Linked DNA regions of Homo sapiens: region 1 is linked to region 2. The links are contacts of gene promoters, found by promoter capture Hi-C in blood cells and fetal thymus (Javierre and others, 2016). All regions are on one chromosome and are shown on one strand. Each heading gives the region's core, a stretch centred on a gene start or on the middle of the fragment in contact. The rest is flanking DNA. Distances are from core to core; before and after follow the strand shown. Region 1 overlaps SATL1 (spermidine/spermine N1-acetyl transferase like 1). Region 2 holds the start of POF1B (POF1B actin binding protein).

Region 1 (2,867 bases), core at 168-2,667, 240 kb after region 2:
CGATCCACCATCATGAGAGTAAGATAGAAGAAGGCAGTCTTGACAACTACATTTAAAGACTGCTGCAATTAGGAGAGGCAATCAGCAGAGATTGTGAATGGTTTATATAGGAGATAAGGGACCATGGATTTTGAACTTGTTCTTTACAGCATGTATAAATTACCAGTTAACTTTTTGGTTGTACACTTGTCAGATCCCCATATCTATACTTCCTGTATATGGAACATGCACGAATTGTGTATGAGTTGTATACCACTTGAGTTCAGTCATAGCCATTTATTATTTCCAAGAACTATTTGTTCATCTTTGTACTAAGGTTCATGTTTTATTATTTGCCAAAGTTAAACCTTTGCTTGAAACATATTGCTACTAATACATTTTCCAACCCTGCTCATAACCAGAGATCTCTGACCTTACAGCCACCAAGAGTGCTGAACAATCATCTGAGGACATCATTGGGTATCACTGGCAAAGAGAAGAGATGAAGAAAAGATAAGAGAAAGAAATGAAAGTGGAAGAGGGCAGAAAAAGATAAACAAAAGTTAGGAGAGTTTTCAGGAGGAGAAAATAAAGAGAAGACAGAGAAGGAAGTATCTGGTAAGGAAACAAATACAGATGTAATCCAGTTGGGATACCAGGCTTTCATTAGGATATTTTCTCTCTTTTTCTCCTTAGATCCACATTTGTCAGGACGCCAATTCACCTAATCATATCTGCCATATATTTTCCATCTAAGTCACCTTGACAAGCTATCATTAACCTTGTAGCCCATGTGTGTCTCAGAATCCACTCTTCTCCCCACCTACTGGCATGTGTATTTATTTTTATGTAAGTATTTCTGCTGGAATGTATCTATTATTGTACTTTATTCACCATTCTTCCTTTCTTGCCACTAATAAAATTGCAGTTTCATGAGAGCTTCAGGTTGAACTTTCATGCCACCTGTTAATACAGATAATTTTTTATCTACCCAGCTTACCTTGACCTGGTATAATTTGTTTGCTTTCAACAACTCTACTTCAATTTTTTTTTTTTTTTTTTTGAGATGGAGTCTCGCTCTGTCACCCAGGCTGGAGTGCAGTGGTGTGATCTCGGCTCACTGCAAACTCTTCCTCCCGGGTTCACGCCATTCTCCTGCCTCAGCCTCCTGAGTAGCTGGGACTACAGGTGCCCGCCACCACGCCTGGCTAATTTTTTGTATTTTTAGTAGAGACGGGGTTTCATCGTGTTAGCCAGGATGGTCTCGATCTCCTAACCTCGTGTTCCACCCGCCTCAGCCTCCCAAAGTGCTGGGATTACAGGCGTGAGCCACCGTGACCGGCCTCTACTTCAATTTCTAAAAAATGATCTCCTTGTTTTATAATATCATAGCAATAAAGTATGTACTTAATATTATTAGGTTGGTGCCAAAGTAATTGCAGTTTTTGCAATTATTTTTAATGGCAAAACAGCAATTACTTTGGCACCAACCTAATATTAGTACAATATTATGAAAATATACATGCACATTTTTGGAAAACAGGCATTTTTGTTTATTTGTTTTCATTATGGTAAGAGACAAATAATTATTTGAGTTTTTAGTAAGAAATAAGATACAAAAGGTTATAAATCATAGATAGACTCTAATTCTTTATCTAAGCTCCACATGAATTCCCTCTACAAAAATCCATTGGTTTTTGACAGGAGGCTGAGTATCTCTTGATTCAGAATTTATATGTTATTATTGTAATTATTATTGTTGTTATTGTAAACTGAAGCACTCTACTTAAACATTTTGGTGATATGTGTTTCAAACCTTCTGGAAACAACCAGCTCTGTCAGAAATATACTTCTTTCTATTAAACCAAATTCTATTTTCCTGAAACTTCCAGCCAATATGGAGCAAATTCACTGTGACACACTTAGAAAGTCCTACCATATGGTGAGACTTCAGAAATACAGTAGCATCAAGACTATCAGACTGACAAGTCATAGGAAGGCAACATTTCAGCTTACACATCCAATATACTATGGGTGTAGTTAATATTGCCTTTCTTCATCTATATCCTTTCTAAGACATTAAGGTTAGCTGTAAATTATCTATGTGAAGCACATAATGGTGGTTACCTATCTAACAACATATTGCCCAATAAACACCTTTCTTCTCCCAACAGAGGCTGGGAGTGTTAATTACTGTTATCTCAGCCTGTCTTGCAGCTAGGAGTGGCCACATGGAACAATTCTAGCCAATGAGACATAAGGGGAAGTTTGCTGGGGTTTCTCAGAAAGTTTCTTCAGTAAAAAAGGAAAGGGCAGCCTTCCCTTGCAGCCCCTTTCTGCCTGCTTTGCATACAGCTGTGTCATGATGTGATGCTTGGAATGGCTGCAGTCATCTTGCAACTCTGAGAAGAATCATCCCAATAAACTGGAGGTTCCAGAGCGGAAAGATGGGGAAAAAAATAGGGTCCTTGATAACCTCAGTGAACTAATGAATCAAGCCTGGGACTGCCTAACTTAAGACTTCTTGTTATGTGAGATTTATTAATAAATCTTTGCTGTTTAAAATATGTTTAGTTGGGTGTTCTCTTACTTGCAGCCAAAAGTATTCTGACAAACCATGTTAATTAAAGGGACAATAATATGGAACAACCAAAATGCCTTTGAAAAAAATTCTAGGGATATAACGTAAATATTCTGTATTGTACACATTGGGAACAGTAGCTAGCAACCTGTTAATCTGATGCATGAAACAGGACACAATTAAATCCAAGAAGGTTAACAATGGATTCTAAATTTTGAATTGATTGTATAAGGGGGAATTCAGTGTGGACTGCAATTAAAGTATAATCAGATATAATAGATAAGTGTATTTAAATAATTCATTAAAA
Region 2 (2,748 bases), core at 21-2,520:
TAATATGAATCTCCATATGTTAAAATGCCAGGCCCACCATTTACAGGTTATTTAACTTTGGAAAGTTTTTCAAACTCTCCATGTCTGTGCCTCAGTTTCTCACCTATAAACCTCATAAAGTCACTTCAATGATGAAATAATTATAATCCACATAAAACCCCTTGAACAGTACCTGACACAGAGTGAATAGTAAATCATAACACTTTGTTCACTGGGCAGAAAAAAAATGCTGCTAGCCCCCTGGATAACATTCTCTTCCTCTCTAGAATGGTGGTAGTATACTAGGTCCTATTGCACATATACACATTAGGAAGATACTTTTTACTAAAGTCACTTTGAATGAGAGTATTCTGGATTTAAGTGGTGCTGAAGTATATTGCATAGCAAAATCTGAGGGTAAGTAGGCATTATGATCAAAATTTCAAGTAGTAATAAATGTAAGTTGTAAACACATTTAAATCTCATTATGTCAGTTAAGGCATCTTTCAGGACTTGCAGCTCCCTTAATAACTAGATATTAAAAAGTCAATCAAACTCAGTGTTTCCTAGGGCACATATAAGGGCAGGAGAAATTCCCTTGCATAAATGAAAAACAACAAATGTGAATGCCAAAATGCAAAGCATTTGTGGAATCTTTAGGTTTTTCTTGACCATCCACCTTTCTATACAGCAATTCAATCATTTAGACAAATTTCCTTCAACAAATGATAGAAAAGAATACGAGGCTTTGAGTAAGATAAACAAGTCCATATATTAGACAGAGTCACTAGAAAGAGACCCCTTAGTAATCTTCCTTAACTGCAATTATCAGATGGGTTTTGCAAAGAATGCAAATTTATCTGTGAAAATTGGTGTATTCCTAGACTAATACTCATTATTTTAGTCTGGGAATCTGGAATAATAATACTTATGCTGGTAACTACCTTTGCTAAACTTAAGAACCATAAAAAGACACTTTCATATAACATGTGTGACTTTTTTTCTCTAGCAAGTTTTTTGCATTTTCATGTCTTTGTGAATTTTTAAGCCCATGTGCTTGGAAACTCTGGCTTCATCCCTGACATTCTACATTTCTGCTCTTCACAGACTCCTTTACCTGCTGGGCAGCCTTGTAGCTATCTCCGTGGCAAGGCAGGGCCTCTCCTGGCATGTAAACCTGCTAAGTGAATCCGCCCCTAAGGGCGTGTCAGTACCATTTCCTGGAGCAATGTCACAGGGTGGCTCCATTTTCCATTTGAGCTCAAATATTTTGCTGCTTCCTCTGTAGCTGCCAGACCTGCTCTTGCTGCTGCTCAGGTAGCTTTCTTCTCTTCCCGGCACCACTATTGGCAGAGGTTTTGATAAGCGGTTTCCACACGTGTGTCGTGTGTCTGTCTGCCTGCCTGACTGCCTGCTTGCCTGTCTTTTTTTTCCATTATATTTCTCTGTTTGTTCCTTAGGTAGAACATCTGGGAGGTCCCTTGCTGACCACTGGAAGAAGATGAGCTCGAGCTATTGGAGTGAGACGAGCAGCAGCAGCTGTGGAACCCAGCAGCTCCCAGAGGTGCTGCAGTGCCAGCCCCAGCATTACCACTGCTACCATCAGTCAAGCCAAGCCCAGCAGCCTCCAGAAAAAAATGTAGTGTATGAGCGAGTGAGGACCTACAGTGGGCCCATGAACAAGGTGGTGCAGGCCTTGGACCCCTTCAACTCACGGGAAGTGCTCTCCCCTCTCAAAACCACCTCCTCCTACCAAAATTTGGTTTGGAGCGACCATTCTCAGGTACAACAAAGAAAGCTATGCCAGACTAGTGGAGAAAGGCAATCTTCAACCTGATTTCTCTTCCTTTCTGCTTCTTTGCCTCTATTCCACAGGATATCTTTTGGTGGATTGCAGTTATATATGCCTTGGATAGTCACCCAAATTCATCTCTTGGCTGTTATTTCACTTACTAGTGTCTGTGGTTGTTTGTTTCCGGGTTTCACTGATTTTCATAATCTAACCATAGTATAGGAAGGCTCATTTTCTGTTTGATCTGACTGAAAGATCTGATCCAAGGAATCCCTTTGCCCCTACTGCAAAGCAGTTCTCAACTTGAGTACAGTAGATTTTTATTAGAACAAGTTCCTACTGATTAATTTCATATCAGAAGCAAACAGGTTTTTTTTGGTATCAAATATGGTGATACAGGTACTGTGGCATGTCTGAGTGATAAGCAATTATTTGTGCTCAGCAAATAGTATAGCTGCTCCAGGATAAGTGAGAGGTGCAGATGTCTGAATTGTCATATGTGTTTCATCTTCCAAGAATGACACACTTTTTATCGTACAGCCTAGGTGAATAATTTATGGAATACTTGTAGAAAGAGTACTGGAAGAGTTGATATAGGATTGAGGAAGGCAAGATGTAAGCAATTGTTACATGAAAGCTACAAAAGATGGAACTCTAAGACATCCCATAAAATGAAATACGTTTGTTTCTTAAGAGTTATTCTTAGCACCAATACCTGTGTTAATAACCTTCCCAATAAATACAAGGTAACCCTGCAAGACTGTATAAAATTAACAGCTTTATGTGTATTTTATCCTCTGACTCCTTTTACATTAAATTTGCATGTTTTAAGCTTTCTGGAAAATTCTGTCCAAACTGAAATTATGTTTTTAAGATACAAAAATCTCAAAAAGCAGTCATTGGGATATGATGCTATGTTACATTATTATTACCAATCAGGAGTAATACATATTATTTTTCCAAAACCCACAAATTTG

Evidence for each region. The method cuts DNA at HindIII sites, captures the fragments that hold promoters and counts their contacts. A CHiCAGO score of 5 or more calls a contact.
Region 1: a contact is called between a fragment that was not itself captured here and the fragment with the promoter of POF1B in region 2, in 1 of 17 cell types (M2 macrophages). The highest score is 5.2, in M2 macrophages.

Annotation. Positions count from the first base shown.
Region 1 is chrX:85,140,571-85,143,437 of GRCh38, reverse strand. All of the region lies in intron 2 of SATL1 (spermidine/spermine N1-acetyl transferase like 1), which reads left to right. Among named protein-coding and RNA genes, the nearest start is that of SATL1, 100 kb to the left of the region's middle. The HindIII fragment of the contact is 4,774 bases long and covers 1-2,867 here.
Region 2 is chrX:85,378,187-85,380,934 of GRCh38, reverse strand. POF1B (POF1B actin binding protein) reads left to right here and starts at 1,270. Exons shown (of 17, transcript NM_024921.4): 1 at 1,270-1,296; 2 at 1,440-1,762. The coding sequence starts at 1,481. The HindIII fragment of the contact is 3,418 bases long and covers 1-2,605 here.